Regions from separate parts of the Homo sapiens genome. Here region 2 is linked to region 1. The links are contacts of gene promoters, found by promoter capture Hi-C in blood cells and fetal thymus (Javierre and others, 2016). All regions are on one chromosome and are shown on one strand. The core of a region is centred on a gene start or on the middle of the fragment in contact, and the rest is flanking DNA. Distances in the headings are between cores, read along the strand shown.

Region 1 (4,733 bases), core at 1,565-4,064:
CATTGTTCAACTCCCACTTATGAGTGAGAGCATACGGTGTTTGGTTTTCTGTCCTTGTGATATTTTGCTGAGAATGATGGTTTCCAGCTTTACCCATGTCCATGTAAAGGACATGAACTCATCCTTTTTTATGGCTGCATAGTATTCCATGGTATATATGTGCCACATTTTCTTTATCCAGTCTATTGTTGGTGGACATATGGGTTGGTTCCAAGTCTTTGCTATTGTGAATAGTGCCACAATAAACATACGTGTGCATGTGCCTTTATAGTAGCATGATTTATAATCCTTTGGGTATATACCCAGTAATGGGATGGCTGGGTCAAATGGTATTTCTAGTTCTAGATCCTTGAGGAATCTCTACACTGTCTTTCACAATGGTTGAACTAATTTACACTCCCACCAACAGTGTAAAAGTGTTCCTATTTCTCCACATCCTCTCCAGCATCTGTTGTTTCCTGACTTTTTAAAGATCGTCATTACAAAATAACTTCTTAGAGGTAGAGTGTTGGATCAAGGTCATTGGAAATGTCCTCTCTGGAGTATGTATCTGTGTGTGTGCACGTGCATGTGTGTTTTTGGAAAGCAGGATTGCATACTGAGAAAAGTATGAGCTCTGGGGCCAGGTTGCTGGACTCATCACCTTTTCTCATTTCCTTAAGCAGTGCTGTGACCTTGGGCAAGTTACTTAAGTTTCTGTGTCTTGGTTTTCTAATGAGTAAAAATGGGAATAATAATATCACCTTTCTTCTAGGGTTGTGAGGATTAAATGAGTTAATTTGCTGAGATTCATGTCTGATACCAAACACTCAATAACCATGGCCTGTTACTGAGTGTTATTCTAGGTCAGACTTAGCAACACACTAATCAGAAAGTCTACTGTTCTTAGCGGGCCAGTGCTGGAACTCCGATGAGTTCATGCGTGCCTCTGAGCACACCCACTGAGCGAGGAGAGGTGGTCCTCAGAGCCCGGATGCAAGCCCAGGGCCTCCGCAGACCTAGAAAGTGGCTCTGAGCTTTCTTCCTCAGCGGTCTCCTGAATGTGGCCGCTCGCAAGCTGCACTGTGAACTGCTGACTCTCTGTTCCAAAAGGGGCTTGACACATAATTGAATGAATATATGAATGAGTGAATGAAACCAGGTGTAAGAGTGCATTTTTCTTTTCTTAAATCCCTTCCTGTTACCTCCAAGCCTTCAAAAATGTCTTATGCAGCATCACAGCCCCGATTTACTATACGTGTGCTTGGAGGGGCACAGCATGGCACGACCCGACCCGAGTGGACTGTAGCAACCAAGTCAAATGGGAGACAAAGTGCAGTTCCGAGGGGTCTCCAGGAATATCTGGGAGGGGGGACCCTGGTAGAAACCTGAACCCCCTGATTTCTTATGGGTGGGGAATTTGGACAGCTTGCACTTGGGACACAATGAAAAAAGAATGAGCTCACAACCCTGGGAAGCCAGAAACAGCTTGGATAGCACGGGGCCTGCCACACGGTAACCTCTAAATAAATGGAAGCTTTCTATATTCTAACTTTCAGTAGAGACTAAAATAAAATGTGCATTTGATGCCATATCCACTCATTCTAAAGCCATATCTGCCTTTTTGTATTATGAATATGACTGTCCATTTAGAACAATATTTCCCGTATGGCCATTACATCTATAAAATGATTGTTAGATAGAATGAGACTCAGAGGACAGATAGGAGAACAGGGATCTCGGGCACCCAACAAGCCCTTCTTAGTGGCATAAACTTGCCTTAGTCACATGAAATTTCAAAGAATTGGTTTCTGCCTCTGTAAAACGGGAATCAGTGCCATAATATAATAACTACCACCTGTCTGGGCCAAAGAGCACATCTTGACATTAAATTAAAAGAGAGAGCAAACAAATTAATTAAGAGTGGGTAACATGCCCAGAAATCTTGACCCTAAAATCACTATTAACGGTAAAAGCATTACAGTATTACATTTCTATAACATTCCTAGCAGACAGTTGGCTAAGGAAAAATCTTGATTCTGAATTGTCTTAGAATATGTTTATAATTTATTATTTTTCACCATTCACATATTAATGTGTTGAGAAACAGAAGATCTATGTTCAAAAAGGAGTTACTTTCTGAAAGTAGGTGATATATACCATATAGGTAGAATACTTCACATGTACATAATACCTCCACACATAATAACATAATACATAAGGATAATTGTTAATGTAGGGCTCTCTTTTTTCTTTTTGGTATTGTTGAAAACTAATCAAGAACTTAGCCTAGCTAGTAAAAAAAAAAAAATCAAATTACCAAAGACCTATTTATAGTTATCAGAAAAGGCAATGTGGATCCTGAAACCAGGAAACTTGTTTTGAGGGTGGGGGGAAGATTCCGGGAAGATTCCGGAAAGATCCCGAAAAGTCCAGAAAGATTCAGAAAACACATCACACCGCATCTCTCCAGGCGAAAGATTGAGTCTACCTCCTATTTTAATAATGAAACAGCTGCTAGGGTCGTGGCCCTTCTAGGGGTCTTCATTTGTGATGGACAACTGGGTCGTTTTTGTTTTGTTTGGGGGAATAAATATTTGAAGGGGGGTAACCAAAGAAGGTTTTGCTGCTGTTATGATGTTATTGATACGCAGGCTGACGCTATTATGGCAGATGCTATCAGGCTACATTATCTTTATGCCTCCTAGGTAACCTGAAGCAATTGTCTATTGACTTGGCACTACCCTACCCTGAAGCGTCTGCCCTGCCTAGGAACTGTAACCGGAGCCACTCACATGCCTCCCCAACAGCTTTCTTTAGCCACTGACAGCATCACAGAAGGAAGAGCGCGAAATTGCCCAGGATGGACACTTTCAAAGGGGCCCCAGCGGCTAAGTGACTCTCAGGGAAGGTGGCCTTGCCATCCCAACTTCTATTTAGGGGCAACCACTAGCAAGTTCTTCTCTTCGGGCAATTGGAAAGAGTTCCTATAAGCAAAGTGGAGGTGATGTGGACCCCTGGAAAATTTCCTTGCCCCGTTTGAACTTTGCAATGATTCACTGCAAGTCATGTCCACGTGGAAAGCAAGACTCACCAAAAGACTGAAGTCTCCCTCTAGAAGCATGCATCCATTTCCGTGCTCAGCTCTGCTCGCCTGTTTTGGGAATACGAGGGAGAGTGCTTCCTTCAATCAGTCCGGCGTGGCTGATACTCATTCCACCGTCCGTGTGCAGCCTGTGGCCAAAGCAGGCAGACAGCCAAGACACCCAAGCGCAGAAGGAGCTCCAGAGAAAAGGCAAGATTCGAGCACCCATGCAGAGAGAAATGGCAGTGCGAATCGGAATTCAAGTCACCGCACTGCGGCCCAGCCCGCGGAGACGCCTGAAGATGTGCCCGGGTCCCTGGATGATGGGGCGGACTGTGAAGCAGTGGTGTTTCACGCTTCCATCCCCAGACCATCAATTATTGACACGCCCAAGGTGAGTGAGTGTTCGCTCTGCGATTATAGACGGGATGGAGCTGGAGGAGCGTTGGGATCATGTGGCGAATGTTTCAGCAAACAAACTCATTTAACCTTACTGAATAAGGCATTGCGGGCGTTCTCACTAGTGCGAAGAAGTGTGTTAAAGCCGTGTAGATTCTCAGAGTGTTCTCAAAAGATGTGGATGAGGCAATGATAATAAGCACTGGAGCCATGGCAATGACCGAAGGTAACCTTGAATTAACGGGCTAGGGTGCCTTAGAGCCAAAAATGGCTCACTCAATAACAGATTAGGAGTAAGATAGTTTACAAAAACATTTTTTTCCTTTTTCTATTTCCCCCTCCACCCCCACCGGTCTGTCAATTTATTTATATGAAAATCCACAATCTAAAAAGTTTGGCTAGGGAATTCACAAAACTGCCTCTACTTAAAATGAATCACATGATATCAAAGCAGTCTGGAAAAATTTGGAAATGATCATCAGTGTATGCCTAGTGGTACGGAAGGGAACTGACCTATAAAACTATTCATAATATGGATGTTTTTGTGATAATCTTCTGAGAGTTGAAGGCAGGAGGAGGAAGTTATTTAAAAAAAATGGTGCCACTGCTCTTAAGAGTTATTTACTTATTTTCTTTCCATTTTTGGCATCAGTGAATTTTAATTGTTGAGTATTCTGATTAGATGGAGCTGTACAATTATTTCAAAGTTCCCGGTAATCCCAGTTTGCAGATGCAGTGTAGAGGAAAGGTTTTCTAAAAGGTACACTCCAAAGATATCTCTTGACCATTTTTGGTCATTTCCTAGCCAAGTAGCTTAGGACCAGACTTAAAAAACTGAGAAGTCTTTGGGGATCCATCACTAAAGTATTCTGATTTTTTAAATCATTTTTCCACATCCGTTTAACAAATTATTTTTTGGTCTGGCTTGCTTCACAGAATCTAAGAAGCCTCCTTAGCAAGAACACAGCCAACCAGCAAAGATAGGGTTAAAACATCATTTAAAAAATAGTTTCATTTGACACCCTGCAGGTTTATATGAAATGACTGAAGCTTGGGTCTGTCGTCTGCATTCTGAAATTGGACAGAGAGTTTTACCATATCCTCTGTCACAGCAAAAACTGCTATGTTTTTTTCTAGCACCACTAAACCAAAGCCCATAACCAACCAGCAAAAACCAAAATTTTCAGTGTATAGCCACATCCAGATTAAGATATTTTTGGTAGTATTATAGGTAGCTGATTAGAATTCATGGCCAAGTTGATATTTGTTG
Region 2 (4,733 bases), core at 1-2,500, 140 kb after region 1:
GATGTGAGAATAGTAAGGAATAAAAAAGAGCTCTTGGTCACTAACTGGATAAGGGATGAGTGAAGGTGAGCACTGGGAAATGATTAGGAAATAATCCCCTGAAAGGCAGGCAAAAATAGGTAGCAGGCATTTTGGAAAGTAAGGTGCTTAATGTCAAGATAAGACCTCCAAAAGAAAACTATTTCTAAGAGGCAGCTAAAAATGTGGATTGGCATTTTGAGAAAAAGTTAGCATTTGAGATAAAGTTGAATCTCAAACTTAAAGGCTGCATGCCAACATTGGGAGTAGGTGGATTTTCTGGAGAACAGAAAATTCATTCAAAGAGAAGGGAGCATAATGCTTCTACTTTGACTGGAAACCTTTAAGGCATCTTCCACTTCTAGCAATATGGAGGACTTTACAACATGAAACATATCCAGCTTACAGAGGGGAAAAAAAAAAAACCTTAGCAGGCTGTACACAACGTAAGATTTCTGTAAATCCACAGCTAATTGTTAAAGAAAATAATAGAAATTCCCAGGGACCAAAAACAAAGAAGAAACTGAAAACCAGAGTAATAATTTTATAAATTACTGTTATCACTGCTCTTGGGGCAGGTCTTAGAAATCTTTGGCCTTGGGTTTGGTGACCATCTGAGTTGGGAGAGTATATTAGTTATCCTTGGCTATGTTACCACATATTACCACAAACTTAGTGACAAAAAGCACAACATATATTTATGATGTTCCAGTTTCTGTGGGTCAAGAGGCTAAGCATGGCGTGGCTAGGTTGTCTGCTTGGGGTCTCAAATGACTGCAATCAAAGTGTCTGCTAGGCTGAGGTCTCCACTGGAGAGGAATCCACTCTTGTTGGAAGAATTCAGTTCTTTGCAGGTGTAGGTAAGATTGAAAGCTTCTGTTTTTTTCCTGGTTGTCAGCCAGGAGGCCACCCTTAGTGCCACATGGGCATCCTAATATACACCACCCCAACATGTCAGCTTGCTTTGTCAAAGCCAGGAAGGGAATGAGAGACTCCAGCAAGATGAATAAAATCATCTTGGAATCATGTCCATCCTGTCACCCTTGCCATCTGTGTTTGTTTGTTTTGAGACAGGGTCTTGCTGTTGCCCGGGCTAGGGTGCTGTAGCATGATCACAGCTCATTGCAGCCTCAGCCTCACAGGCTAAAGCCATCCTCTGACCTCAGCCTCCTAAGTAGCTGGGACTACAAGCACCATAAAAAGTTAGCCACCACACCTGGCTAATTTTTGTATTTTTTGTAGGGATAAGTTTTGCCATATTGCCCAGGCTGGTCTCGAACTCCTGGGCTCAAGTAATCCACCTGCTTCAACCTCCCAAAGGGCTGAGATTAGTGGCGTGAGTCACTGCAGCTGGTCTCATATTCTATTGGTTAGAGTCAAGTTACAGGTCCTGCCTACACTCAAGAGGAGGATATTATTCTAGGGTATGAACACCAGGAGGTAGGGATCATAGGGGCCACCCCAAAAATCAGACTGCCACAGGGAAAGGCCTGGGTGCTAGGAGGGGCATGGTGTTAGAAATAAGACCCTCGTGAAGCCGAGACCTTGAGGAATGACACTCTTGTTAAAAGGGAGACACCGATGAAGCTTGTTTGTCTCTGCATGAGCCCTGAGTAGGAACAAAGTCTCCCCTGAGAATTCATGATCACAGCTTACACAGTGCATGGGTTTGGGATTTAAGTTTACCTATAGAGTATAATGACTTCCTAAGTTGAAAAATGAGCATACAAAACATCCTAGATCAGTAAATCCTCCAGGACATCTGGCAAAAACAAATGGACAACCTCTTTGGAAAGATATGCCCACAATCCTTTGGAAGGATACCCGCAGATAAAGCTGCATGGGCCATCAACTCAAGCAATTCCAAATTATAAACTCTGCAAGGAGCTGAGCCATAATGACTTGGAGTTCAAGGCTATAGCAGCAGGATTCAACCTCCAAGAACTCGACTCAGTAGACAGCAATATGCATTATGGGCTGAATTATCTTCATACCCACTCCCCCACCCCCCCTAAAATTCATATGTTGAGCCCTAACCCCAGTACTTCCTTCGCCATGTAACTGTGTTTGGAGATGGACCTTTAGAGAAGTGATTAAGTTAAAATCAGGCTGTTAGAGTGGGCCATAATCCAATATTACTGATGTCCTTAGAAAAAGAGAATATTTAGACACACAAGAGATGTAGTGTTCAGTGCTTTGCTTTTCTACTGAAATCTGATTCCTTGGTTCTTATTCTAAAATGTAACATCATTACGTTGAGTTATTAAATAGTTCATATACTCTACCCCCAAAAAGAGTTAGAGGTATGTAGACAACAGGCAGAACGTATACATTTAGTTTTATGTGCACATAGAAGTAGACATTTCTCTCTCTCTCTCTCTCACTTGCTCTCTCTCTCACATGATCCTGGAATTGTTGGCTTTTTTTTTTTTTTTTTGGCTCCTTTTTATAAGAGTCACACTATGGCAAAATCCTGAGTGCATATCCATCCTATTCTGATTGGGCATAGGATGCCACCATTGTGTATGGGGATGAGGGGTGCTCAGATTGATTGGTGAAGGTAGCCAATCCTGAAGCCAAAGGAGCATCGAAGAAGTAGTTGTGCTCCAGGAATTTCAAAGTGTGTTGTTTGAAACTTGGAACACATTTTCTCATAGAAGCAATAAGACAAGTCATGGTATTATTTGTAGATTGGCGTAAAGACTACTGAATTCATTGTGCACCTGGCTCCACAGGAGCTATCATTTATCACAGAATTTCAGTGGAAAACACATTCTGGCCAGGCATGGTGGCTCATGCCTGTAATCTCAATGCGGTGGGAGGCCGAGGCGGGCAGATCACTTGAGGTCAGGAGTTCAAGACCATCCTGGCCAACATAGTGAAACCCCGCCTCTACTAAAAATACAAAAATTAGCCAGGCGTCGTGTTAGGCGCCTGTAATCCAAGCTACTTGGGAGGCTGAGGCAGGAGAATTGCTTAAACCCAGGAGGTGGAGGTTTCAGTGAGCTGAGATCACGCCACTGTACTCCAGCCTGGGTGACAGAACGAGACTGCATCTCAAAAAAAGAAAAAAAAATAGAAAAACACATTCCAAGTTCCAACCAGGGAGGTTTGAAACCTCTCCTTAGAGCAGAACTAACTGTGTGTGCAACTGACATTTTGAGTAGAGCAGAACTTCGTGGTATGGGGCTGTCTCTTACAGTGCAAGAAGGGATATCCCTGCCATATCCCAACCACACGCTGGAGGATCACTGGCAGAGGGTGTTGATTCTTTGTTTGTTTGTTTTAATAAGTAGTGAACAATAGCTAAAATCTCCATTTAGTTCTTTTAGCCTTAGGTGGGCTGTTCGAAGTCTAATGGTTGCAAGCAAAGTTTAGGCATCAGCCAAGCATTTGGGCAGAGTTCCTGTGGAGAATTTAGGGCTTCCTGGTTTCTTGCTCCTGTTCTTCTTCTGCATATTTCTCCTCTTCCGCTTCCAGCTGCCATGGCCCCTGACTGACCCCTACCCTAGTTCTTCAGGCCAAAAAAACTGAGGTTTGTTTCTTTTTCTTCCCCTCCCTCCCTCCCTCCCTTCCTTCCTTTCTTCTTTCCTTTTTTTTTTTCTTTTCTTTTTTTTGGAGATAGGTTCTCTCTCTCTTGCCCAGTCTCTGGATCGCAGTGGTGCAATCTCAGCTCACTGCAGCCTCCGCCTCCGGGGTTCAAGCGATTCTCCCACCTCAGCCTGCCGAGTAGCTGGGATTACAGGTATGCACCACCATGCCTGGCTAATTTTTGTATTTTAGTAGAGATGGGGTTTCACCATGTTGGCCAGGCTGGTCTCAAACTCCTGACCACAAGTGATCTGCCTGCCTCGGCCTCCTAAAGTGCTGGATTATAGGCGTGAGACACCGCACCCGGCCAAGACTGAGGTTTCTATCCAAGTGTTAGACACATACCCTGCCTAAATCTCCACCCCCACAGTGATGGCATCATCTGACTTCAGGCTAAAAGCTGCAAAAATGGGAAACTCAGCTAACGCCATCCTCCTCCCAAATGTAGACCCTTCCTGCTCCAGTTTCTGCCTGCTTTTGGTCACTCAAGTAGTTGGTTTTGGGGTTTTTTTTCTTTTTTCTTTTTTTAAGCTGGCAGCTGTTTTCTGTGGGAGAGTTAATTCCATCATTACTGGAAGCAGAATTTCATCAACTTTCCCTCTATTGATTCCCATTCTCTTGAAAAGCTATTTCCATGCAAATAAACCCAGCTTTGGCTGCCTGTTATCCAAAATGTGGACACCAAGCATATATTTTGAATTTTTTTTTTTTTTTTTTTGAGACAGAGTCTCGCTCTGTGGTCCAGGCTGGAGTGCAGTGGCATGCTCTTGGCTCACTGCAACCCCAGCCTCCTGGGTTTAAGCGATTCTCCTGCCTCAGCGTCCCGAGTAGCTGGGACTATAGGCACCCGCCACCACGCCTGGCTAATTTTTTTTTTGTAATTTTAGTAGAGACGGGGTTTCACCGTGTTAGCCAGGATGGTCTCAATCTCCTGACCTCATGATCCACCCACCTTGGCCTCCCAAAGTGCTGGGATTACAGGTGTGAGCCACAGCGCCTGGCCTGAAATCTTAAAAGCTGTTTCATATCATTTTAAAAATCAATAACAATGTCTTAAAAGCATAACTCAATTAGGGACAAAACATCACAATCTACTTTATAGCACTATGGAAAAGCCTGCATGA

The links. The method cuts DNA at HindIII sites, captures the fragments that hold promoters and counts their contacts. A CHiCAGO score of 5 or more calls a contact.
Region 2: a contact is called between a fragment that was not itself captured here and the fragment with the promoter of FAM107B in region 1, in 2 of 17 cell types (naive B cells and total B cells). The highest score is 9.9, in naive B cells.

What each region holds. Positions count from the first base shown.
Region 1 is chr10:14,772,978-14,777,710 of GRCh38, reverse strand. FAM107B (family with sequence similarity 107 member B) reads left to right here and starts at 2,814. Exons shown (of 5, transcript NM_031453.4): 1 at 2,814-3,458. The coding sequence starts at 3,048. The HindIII fragment of the contact is 2,997 bases long and covers 1,519-4,515 here.
Region 2 is chr10:14,633,994-14,638,726 of GRCh38, reverse strand. The region is part of intron 2 of FAM107B (family with sequence similarity 107 member B); the gene reads left to right. Among named protein-coding and RNA genes, the nearest start is that of FAM107B, 140 kb to the left of the region's middle. The HindIII fragment of the contact is 714 bases long and covers 894-1,607 here.